Regions from separate parts of the Homo sapiens genome. Here region 1 is linked to region 2. Evidence: promoter capture Hi-C in 16 types of primary human blood cells and fetal thymus (Javierre and others, 2016). All regions are on one chromosome and are shown on one strand. The core of a region is centred on a gene start or on the middle of the fragment in contact, and the rest is flanking DNA. Distances in the headings are between cores, read along the strand shown. Region 1 has its middle 26 kb from the start of TSEN2. Region 2 holds the start of TIMP4 (TIMP metallopeptidase inhibitor 4).

Evidence for each region. Contacts are between HindIII fragments. The CHiCAGO score rates a contact against its expected background, and 5 or more counts as called.
Region 1: a fragment that was not itself captured here is called in contact with the fragment with the promoter of TIMP4 in region 2 in 6 of 17 cell types (monocytes, M1 macrophages, endothelial precursors and 3 more); the score reaches 7.3 in monocytes.

What each region holds. Positions count from the first base shown.
Region 1 is chr3:12,455,591-12,461,268 of GRCh38, reverse strand. No RefSeq gene overlaps it. Among named protein-coding and RNA genes, the nearest start is that of TSEN2, 26 kb to the left of the region's middle. The HindIII fragment of the contact is 3,865 bases long and covers 1,880-5,678 here.
Region 2 is chr3:12,156,165-12,161,419 of GRCh38, reverse strand. It overlaps TIMP4 (TIMP metallopeptidase inhibitor 4), which reads left to right and starts at 2,508. Exons shown (of 5, transcript NM_003256.4): 1 at 2,508-2,718; 2 at 3,938-4,035; 3 at 4,486-4,600. The coding sequence starts at 2,580. The region is part of intron 5 of SYN2 (synapsin II); the gene reads right to left. The HindIII fragment of the contact is 8,121 bases long and covers 1-5,175 here.

The DNA.
Region 1 (5,678 bases), core at 2,563-5,062, 300 kb before region 2:
TGGCCCCGCACTCCTGGCTCTGACCTTACCTGGCTTTGTGGCATCTCTTTTTGTTATTTCTTTTGACTCTCATTTACATCTTTCACTGGTATGGAACTTTCCAGCGGGTAGAGGACATTGATTGTTTTGATTTGCCCAGCATTTATCTTCCCTTCTTCTAAAATCAGAGCCCAGTTTTGGTTTTGAGACCCCCCGCAACACTCCCTTCATGAGATGCAGTCTTTCTAAGACTGTTAATAGGAGCGCCCAATGATTTTTGGCCAAGGGAGGGCATCTGACCCAAGCCAAGCCAATCAGAAGCCCTTCTCCTGGAACCTGAATCTTGAAGGGAATAACACAAGTACCCAACACAGTTAGAGCCACATCATCCCATGGAGGTTTCCTAAAGAAATGAGCTGGGTCTGCAGCTCCCATCCTGGGAGCTGCTTTTGACTCTCCCTTACCACAGTATGACTGGCGAGCCCCTTCCCTCGTACCTTCTGAATAAATTGTTTGCCTTGCAGTTACAGTTGGTGTCTGTTGCTTGCAACCAGAGCATCCTAAGTCATACACAGTGTACATACATAAATGCATAGATAGCTTCCTTTTCAACTTGTATCAAGGGCAGGGACTGAGCCATTTATTCATTTTCTCATTCATTGATCAACAAACCGTTCCAAATAACCTACTCTGTGCCGGTTATGTGCTGGAAGTTGGGAGTGCCGAAATGAACCATAGTCCCTGCTCCAAGAAGCCCAAGTCTACCCTTATAAAAAACGTGGCACTTCTTCCTTCAGCCCTTCATTCACTCATTCACCAAATGCTCAGTGTGCACCCATTATGAACCAGAGGCTCTGCCGGAACTGGGCTGACAGTGTAGAGGACAGAATCCCTGCCCACATGAGATCCTTAGCAATTTGCACCAAGTTGGTGCTAAAAATAAACTCAGAATCCCAGAGGGTCAGAGTCTGAAGGCCGCCCAGAACCCACATGGCCTGCTGGTTTTCAAACAATCCTGCTGGTGGGTCCTGAGGGTTGAATATTGATGTTTCATAAAACATTGTTTTTTTTTTACAGCTTTATTGAGGTATAATTTACATACCATAAAATTCACCCATTGTAAGTGTACAACTCAAGGATTTTTTTAGAAAATATATGGAGTTGTGCAACCATCACCACAATTCAGTTTCAGAACATTTCCAGCACCCTACAAAGTTCTCTCATGCCCGTCTGCAGTCACTCTTTGCTTGAAGCATTCTAGTTTTTAGTTATGTATTTGATACAGGGTCTCACTCTGTCTCCTAGGCTAGAGTGCAGTGGCACAATCACGTCTCATTGCAGCCTTGACTTCCCAGGCTGAAGTAATCCTCCCACTTCAGCCTCCTGAATAGCTGGGACTACAGGCATGCACCACCACACCGGCTAATTTTTTTTCTATTTTGTGGAGACGAGGGTCTCACTATGTTGCCTAAGCTGGTCTTGAACTCCTGGCCTCAAGTGATCCACCCACCTCAGCCTCCCAAACTGCTGGGATTACAGGCATGAGCCACTGCACCTGGCCTACATTCTAGTTTTTAAAAAAGAACAGAATTTGAGAACCAGTGACCGATTCTAAACCACTTCTTCTACAGATGGGGAAACTGAGGGCCAGAGAGGAGAAGGGGCCTGCTGAGGACAGCGGTGGGTCCATAGCGTTGCTGAGATTCACCCCAGAGCAACCTGATTTCAAAGCCCAGTTTCCTCCCACTCATGGGAAGCAGTTCTGAGGTGGAGTTAAGAGTCCTCAAATCACACAGTGGGGGTTCCAATCATGGCTTTACCATTTATAAGCTGTGTGGCTGTGGGCAAAATGTTTAACCTGTCTGGGCCTCAGTTTCTTCATCGGCAAGTGTGGGAAGCTTAGTCTCTGCCCCGGGGGTTGCTGTGTGGATTGTGTGAGATCACAGGTGTAAGATGCATACGTAGCACAGTGCGTGGCACGCAGTAAGCATTCAGGGCAAGTTGGCTAATAATGATCATTTCACCACATCACCCTCTCCCTATTTGTCCTCAGAAATCTGGAAGTGGAAAAGACAGTGATTAAACAAAGCCCTGAGTAGACATGGGTGTACAGAGGCAGCTTTCTAAGAACCTGGTGAAATACCCCACCCTGGGCATCATCACCCCGTGTGGCGAATGGAGCAACTGCTGGGGACTTGCTCAAGTAGCCTCCGACCCCGCAGGGCTGTTCCTTCCTCCCAGTTTCAGGATTTCCCAACAGGTCCCCAACAGACGCATTTCATCAGCCTCAGGGGAGCCTGGCTCCCTTCCCGCCCCGGCCCAGAGGCGCCTGATGGGATGGAAGCTGGTTTTATGCTTCTGGATCCCCAAGAATGATAGGGCCCCACCCTTCTGCCCTCCCCAGCAGCGTCTCTCTGCCATCAGTGAAGCAGTTGAGCTTGATGGAGATGGGCAGCGCACCCAGGAAGAAGGCAGAGGACTTAGCCCAATGTTACCTGCTGTGTATGTGTTATCTTCGTCAGACCTGCCCATCATGCCTGCTTGACATTAGAGGAAATTAAAGGTCAGAGAAAGGGGGTGATATGCCCAAGTAAGGAGTTCCAAAAACGTAACAGTCTGAGGTAGACCAAGAGATCAGAAACAAGAGACCAGAGGTGGGATCAGGTCTAGGTAATGTGGCTCCCAGGAAGCAGAGTGACTTTTTTTTTAAGCACACATACATTAGACATAATTTAGACACGTTATAAAGAGCTCTGCGTTTGCAATGAAGTAAATATGACTCTGAAGGACTGTCTAGTTTGCTAGGCTGTGCTAATGATTAGAGAGCCTGCTCGATGAGTAGCTACTTACCAAGCTCCTCCTGACTACAGGGGATCGAGATTACAAGAGGTAAAATAACACCCCTAATTCCAAGAGCTTCCCAGGCTATGGTGTGGTTGGACAAAGTCCTACAATAATCTAAGTTTGACTGTGATGAGGATCAGAATCACAGGACTATGGGAGAACTAAGGAGGGAGTCAGGGAGCATCTGGCATTGAAGGGTGAATTCACTGTTGACAGCTCAACAAGGCTTTGTGGCCCTGTGTAGCTGGAACTCATGGGTAGGAAGGGCAGAGGCTGGAAAGGCTGGCTGATGTCAGATTGTGAGGGTCTTGAATGATGGGCCATTTTAACTTTATCATGTAGGTCATAGGGAGCCACTGAAGGTGTTTGAGCAAGGGAATGACACAACCAGAGGGCTCTTTAGGAAGACTGATCTGATGGCTGTTACACTTGGAGTCAACAGGAAAAATAAGAGTGTTCTTTAGGCCCCTTCCTTTTTAAAATTTATTTATTTGTTTATTTATTTTTTGAGATGGAGTCTCGCTCTGTTGCCCAGGCTGGGGTGCAGTGGCGCAATCTCAGCTCACTGCAACCTCCGCTTCCATGTTCAAGCAATTCTCCTGCCTTAGCCTCCCAAGTAGCTGGGATTACGGGCATGCACCACCACGCCCAGTTAATTTTTGTATTTTTAGTAGAGATGGCGTTTCACCATGTTGGCCTCCCTTGATCTGCCTGCCTTGGCCTCCCAAAGTACTGGTATTACGGGTGTGAGCCACCACGCCCAGTCAATGTATTTATTTTTTTGAGACAAGATCTTACTCTGTTGCCCAGGCTGGAGTGCAGTGGTGCAATTATAGCTCACTGTAACCTTGAACTCCTGGGCTCATGCAATCCTTCTGCCTCAGCCTTTCAAATAGCTAGGACCACAAACCTGTTCCACCACACTCAGCTAATTTTAAAAATTTTTTTGTAGAGATGAGATCTCACTATGTTGCCCAGGCTGATCTCGAACTCCTGGACTCAAGCAACCCTCCTGCCTTGGCCTCCCAAAGTGCTGCAATGACAGGCATGAGCCACTGTGCCTGGCCTGGGCCCTTTCCTTAGGCTCCATGACTGAATGAAAGAGCAAACATGATGAATTGAACACCTACTATGTGTTAGGCACTTGCTGAATTTAGAAATAAATAAATGTCTTGTGTTAATGCGGTGATTACTCAGTCACCAGAGAGCAGATGATAATTTGGGGAATGGGCAGTACTGCTAAAACCCAACACCAAGGAGAGGGGCAATCTCCAGCAAAGAAAGACACAGAAGAACCACAGGATGGTCAGGAAAACTCGTTCAATAGCCTGGAGGCTGCTCTACAGCCACCCTCAGAGTTCACAGTGACGGCGCTGGCAGTGAAAAAGTCACTGATAGTCTGGGTGCTTTGCTTGCCAATGCAGGGAACCACTTATTTTATCATGAACGTGAATAAATATGCAATGAGCACAAACAAAAACAGTGACAGGTGCAGCCCCTCCCTCTGGGTCCTCCTGGGCTATTGGGGATAGCTTGAATGATGCTCCAGTGAAACCAGATGAAGTGGGTGAAGCTGAAGGTGGACGGTGGGCCACACAGAGTGGCCTTCTCAGTGCTCCTGCCTCACCTTTGATTAAAGGTGGGCCATGGGGCTGTGGCCTTTAATCCAAGACCAGATACTCTGAGACCCACCACCTCTGTATTGCCTGGGCTCAGGCCACCATGCACAGGTGTTGCTGCCACTAACCAGAAAAATGGCTGTCAGTCTTGGGCTTCCAGTCACTGCAGCCACAGAAGGGGAACCTCCGTGTTGTGCTGCTGGAGATAAGGTTTGGGGGGCTGATGTCCACTGTCCAACTCCATGACTCTCAGTCGAGATGCATTCCTGCCAAGCCTCCAGCTGCTTTGTCCTGGATACCACAAAGGCAGATGCAGGCCCTGAGCCCACCTTGCTCAAGGCACGTGCCCAAAGGCCACCTGATCCCAGCTCAGGCACCAGTGGCTCCAGTTACTCCCTTCCAGAAAACCTAAGGTCCTAAGAGTTCAAAAGAGGGCGAGGCCATAGAAGGCCAGAATGACCGTGGAAGTGAACCAAGAAAGACGAAGAGAAGAGCTTAAATGAAGTAGGACAGAAAATATTGAGAAGGGGAATAGAAAACAGTGACAAAAGCTGCAATTGCCTTTTTGTTTAGGGTAGGTGTATGCTCTTGGCAGGATAATTCGTTGGCCTATTAATTTCTGCCTTGTTCTTGTGAACATACGAGAGACCCAAGAAAGAGGCCAAGGCCCAAGAAAAATCAACTTTCCTCCAGAGAATGTCATACCCCTGAAATCCTGTGCTCCCAGAGGTGGTGGAGCTGACTATTCTGGAGGAAGAGGGGCTCAAGGGCTAGACAGAATAGAAATCAGGGGGCTGTGTCCATGGAGACTGGTGGAGGCCTGGGAGGCGGTCTGGAGCTGAGCCGCCGATGAACCTGCCGGCTTGGAGGCCCATGGCCTGGGGACCTCGGTCAGGGCCTCCTCCCTCTCTGGCTTGACCTTCAGGGACAGAACACCCAGGAAGCACTGCAGACGTAGCCATGAGAGAAGGAACACCGCAGACCCCCTCCAGCACCTTTGCAGATTGCCCCCACTCTGAAAACTGACTTAACTGATCTAGAAGAAAAATACATTTATCTTCAACTGTTCAGTGGAACAATTTTGTACCCTGTTATAAAGGCATAGAGACGTCGATTGAAAAACAAATCACCACCAAATATTAGTAGTGGCATTTGTGTCTGTGTTGTCCAAAGTCTGTACTTTGTATATAATGGACAGGAATAATTTTTGTCACAAAAATTTTTAAGAGGATGAAG
Region 2 (5,255 bases), core at 1,259-3,758:
TACAGATTAAAAAACTGAGACCCATGGAATGACAGTGAGTTCCCAGGGTCACAGAGCATATTAGTGGCAGTGCTACAAGAACCCTGTACTCTTATTTGGTATACCCTACATCTTTAAAATGCACTGTCAATTTTCTCTGCATTAGACAAAACCTGGGCAGGACTGGCCCTCAGACAAAGAGAATTAAAAAAAGAAAGTATCTCTGAAAGAGTGAACTTTACTATATGTAGATGTACTTTAATAAACCTGTATTTTTATTTTAAAAACACATCTTTGGCATCTTGATGTCCCTGTCAGCATGTACCCTCTTGGTACCTACAACCTTCAAAGGCCCAGCTTTCCTGTAATGATCCTGGTTGTTTTCTCCCTCTTTCACACTCTTCACTGCTCACCAATACCCCAATCTCACCACCAAACAAGGCTTTGCATGTGAAGGCCCATTTCTTCCCAGCTTGGGGTTTGAAAGAGAGCCGGTAGAAGAATTCAGTATGTTTATAAATGCAGAGAGATCCTTAGGGGAGCGAACTCTACACTGAGGTAGCCATACTTTAACAGAGGAGCAACAAAACCTTAAAAGAAGGATTATCCTCTAAGGGCAAGATTTCAAGCTGCTACAAAATGGTGATGTAAGAAGTAATATTGTGGAGTGGAAGGAGCACTGGGCTAGATGTCAGGAGACGAGTACTCTAGTCCTCTTCTGCCACGGACTTTCTACAAGTCACTGTATCTCACTGGGCCTCAGCCTTCACATCTGTCCAATGAAGAGATCAGATGGGATGCTTTCTGAGCTCCCTTCAAATAGTACATCAGCCTCTATCTTGGTCTGAACATTGTATGAAGAACCAGCCTGGATGCTAACCCGGGCATTTCATCTTTCAGTCAGACTCAGCTCTCTTTCAATTCCCTTCTTTTCAAATATCACTAACACCATCAAAATGAAAAGGTATCCTTTGAAGGAAATAATGTTGACCCTGATGAAAAGTCAGACTCCTATGGGAACTAAGATTTGAACAGATACTGGGGGTATCTGGCCTGAGGATCTCAGCATTCCTGGTTGAGGCCAGCCAAGGATGGGAAGAAGAACTTCAAAGGGCTTTAGAAATCACGTAGTTCAACTCTACTTTATGAAGAAAAAACTGAGGCCCAGAGAGGCAAAAGTCACAAAGCTACAGTGACAGTCAGAATTGGAACCCAGCCTCCCACTATCCAGTCCAGCACCATGTGGAAACATCCCACAGCAATAATCCCATGGAGATTTGGGATTTGGAGGCTTGCAACACTGTGCCCAAACAGCAGACAAGGCTCTGGTCACAGTCACCCCCAAGTCCCCTGCTTCTTTGTTTTTTCTTTTACTTTTTTTTTTTTTTTTTTTTTTTTGAGACGGAGTCTCACTCTGTCGCCCAGACTGGAGTGCAGTGGCACAGTCTCAGCTCACTTCAACCTCCGCCTCCTGGGTTCAAGCCATTCTCTTGCCTCAGCCTCCTGAGTACCTGGGACTACAGGTGTAGGCCACCACGCCCGGCTAACTTTTGTATTTTTAGTAGGGACGGAGTTTCATCATGATGGCTAGGGTGATCTCGAACTCCTGACCTCAGGTGATCAACCCGCCTTGGCTTCCCAAAGTGCTGAGATTACAGGCGTGAGCCACCACGCCCAGCCTGCTTCTTTGTTTTCTAAGCTGTCCCACCTTCTAGAACATGACAGAGTCTCCAGTGAGAAGGGACATGCAATAAAAATCAATGTAGTCTAGGGCCTCGAGAGGGCTTTGAGGTCCAAGGTTTGCCCTAAGTGATGGGACACTTTGTGTTTTGTACACCAAGAGCGCTGTCTCCAGCTATCTGGAGAGTCTGAGGCTCTGGGAGTGAGAAAGGGTTTCTAAAGCACTGGCTGCTTCTTTGACATCTCTCCCCACCCCCCAGGCAACAGAGCCAAGACACACACACCCCAACTTTCTCTGTCCTGTTCTATTACTGTTTGCTGTTGCTTTGGAGCCTCATAAATAGGGCATTGAAAGCACTTCCTGCAGCTGAAAGAAGCCCTGAGTAGCTCGTCTCATTCCCAGCGTGCAGCTCAGCAAGGGGTCCGTCCTTCTCTGTCACTGTCTCTTTTGCCTGTTGTAATTCTGTCTGCCTCTCTGGGACTCTGCCTGTCTCACTCTTTCTGTCTGTGCCTCTCCTCACTCTTGTTCTTTCTGCCTGAATCACAGCCCTCAGTTTTTCTGTCCTCATGCATTTGTCTTTGTGGCTCTTTCCGTCTTTCTGCCCTTGACACCATCCCCTCTCCCAGTGCTTCCCCTCTGCTTCCAGATCGCTTCATGACTTAGGCAGGGAAACAGAGGTCAGGGCCTCCTTCCAGGCTTCCCTCTGCATCTTACTGAGTATGCAGGTCGGAAGAGCCTCGGGTCCTGCCTCCGCGGGTGGCCTAGAGCCAAAGGAAGGCGGAGCCCGTCGGGGCGGGATTGGCCCTTAGGGCCACCTCATAAAGCCTGGGGCGAGGGGCACAACGGCCTTGGGAAGGAGCCCTGCTGGGGCCGTCCAGTCCCCCAGACCTCACAGGCTCAGTCGCGGATCTGCAGTGTCATGCCTGGGAGCCCTCGGCCCGCGCCAAGCTGGGTGCTGTTGCTGCGGCTGCTGGCGTTGCTGCGGCCCCCGGGGCTGGGTGAGGCATGCAGCTGCGCCCCGGCGCACCCTCAGCAGCACATCTGCCACTCGGCACTTGGTGAGTCCGAGGTCCGCGAGGTCCACAGCAGGGGGTGGTTGTGGGGGATTAGTATCTGGCCAGCAGTACACCAGGAGTCCAGAGGAAAAGGGAGGAGCTCAAATTCTTACCGGTTGTCTCTTGCTGAGGCTGATGGGTGGAGAAGGACCAGGCGCCATAGCAACCTTGCAAGCCCAGAACCTGACTGATTCATAAGGAAATGAAGATTTCATCAGGGACTTCCATAGCGACCTCCCTCACTCCGGCCATACTGCAATTATGGAGTGTCATTACACAAGGTGTCACCGGAGCTATCTGATGATTATTCTGAACTACTAGACTGGGGACAGAAAGGGGAGGGGAGAGGGCTTGCATTGTAACTACCCGTGTCTGTCCAGGCCTATAACTGAGGTTGCCACCAAGCCCCTATGGCAACACACACGTTCTGTCCTTTCTCTTCCCTCTGCCTGGAATGCCCTCCCTCACACCCTTAAATTCCTGGCAGACTCCTACTCATCCTTCAAGGGCTAACTTAGGTCTCTCCCCTTCTCTGCAGGCTCCCGGGCTCCTTGGTGCCGCCTCAGCATCTCTAACCGTCTTAGCGCTCCTACTATGCTGTGCTGTTGTTCTTTACACGTGTGCACTCCACTAGATCAAGAGCTCGGCAGGATGGGGACCCTGTCTTAATCACATCTATGGGCCTAGTGCCTAGTGCAAGGCCAGGCACAGAGGAAGAACATCATCAACAGTTTTTGGTTATTAATGCTCAAATGGCAAGAGATGCAATACCTCAGTGCAGGGTCAGAACATTTATGAATTCAATAAACATTTACTAATATCAACTGTAGGCGGGATGAGAGGCCTTGACCACAGCAATAGATAAACTTCACACCGACTGCCCTGAAGGGGCTCCTCCTCCCTTCTCTACTCTGACTCCTACCCTGTGCCCCACTGCACAAACGGCTATGGAGAACTAGAGCTCTCCAGACTAACTGGTTCAAAAGGCAGAAACAGCTTAGCGGTTATAGGACCTAATAAGCCTGAGGGGTTTGGAACTTCCAGTGACTGCAGGGGAGGTGTTTCCAGGTCCCCCTTCTCACACATCACGTTGCTCACAACCCAGCCACACCAAAACCAAGAACTGCCCTATAGACTTCTTCATGGACCCTGGATCATCCAGACCTCAGGTGTATTGCCCCCACCAGCTGCTGAAGGTTCCCTCTTTTCTCTTCCTATGCAGTGATTCGGGCCAAAATCTCCAGTGAGAAGGTAGTTCCGGCCAGTGCAGACCCTGCTGACACTGAAAAAATGCTCCGGTATGAAATCAAACAGATAAAGGTACATGGGGGCAGGCTGGGATGTGTAGCCCCTAAGGCTGATGGAGAAAGTGGAGTCTGTGTTCTGGGAGGGCTGGTAGCTTTCAGGTGGCCTGGCTCAGTAATCCTTGGGTCTAGATACTGAAGTGGAACTGGATGAGATTTGGAGGCAGAGCCCATAGAATCCCAGGGATATTGCCAGGGAGGGCCTCAGCATCCATCTGGTCCCACAGCTGCTGGTGTATGGTGCCACTACAGGTACCTACTGGAATAAACCAAGGTTTAGGTGTTTTTTGTTGTTGTTGTTTTGTTTTAAGAGAGAAAATAACCCAGTAGGGACATCTGAGGACACAAAATCCTCAACTAGACTTTTGCTTACATTTTTAGGCTGAGAAGTGAGAGGTTTTTGTCTGTTAATATATACAGTACACTCACTGACCCAATATTGCCTTTTTTTGTAATTGCCTGTCAGATGTTCAAAGGGTTTGAGAAAGTCAAGGATGTTCAGTATATCTATACGCCTTTTGACTCTTCCCTCTGTGGTGTGAAACTAGAAGCCAACAGCCAGAAGCAGTATCTCTTGACTGGTAAGTTAAAAGACCAACAACTGGCCTTAATATAATAGATTCTGCCCTAGGGGAGGTAGTGAGAAAGGAGCCAGGGTCTTCCTTGGGCAGTAGGCTGAGCCAGGTGGCATTTTCTTGGGCATAAAACAGAGCTGTGTTAGTGACAGACAACCTCTGGGTTAGGAGGAGCCTTGTAACCTCCCTTTAAATGTAAGAGTTCTTAGTACAGTGACCCTGGCCACCGTTTCACTATTTTAAGGACAGGCTGCTCACCCAGTGTAGGGCAGCTGCTTCCGTTTTTCAAATAGTTTAAATTAGTATAAGATTTTTGGCAACTTGAGTCGAAGTCTCCTCTCTAAAACTGCTCCTTGCAGGTCAACTCTGCCTTTTGCACAGGACTTAACAGGAGCTTGAGTCTAACATAGTTCTGTCTCTGTGAACTTGGGCCCAGGCAGGATTCCTCCATACTGAATTGGCTGGGATAGAACAGTTAAAGAATCACACAAAAATATGACTCCATAAATGAATGCAACATTAAATTATTTTGGAGTTCAGAGAACGGAACTATTTGGTAGTTGTGAACTATCAGGGAAGCTTCATTGTGTAGGTGGGATCTAAACTGGCCTGAAAACATAAAACAATATTTAGAAAGAAAGCAAGGGAAAGAAAAAGCACA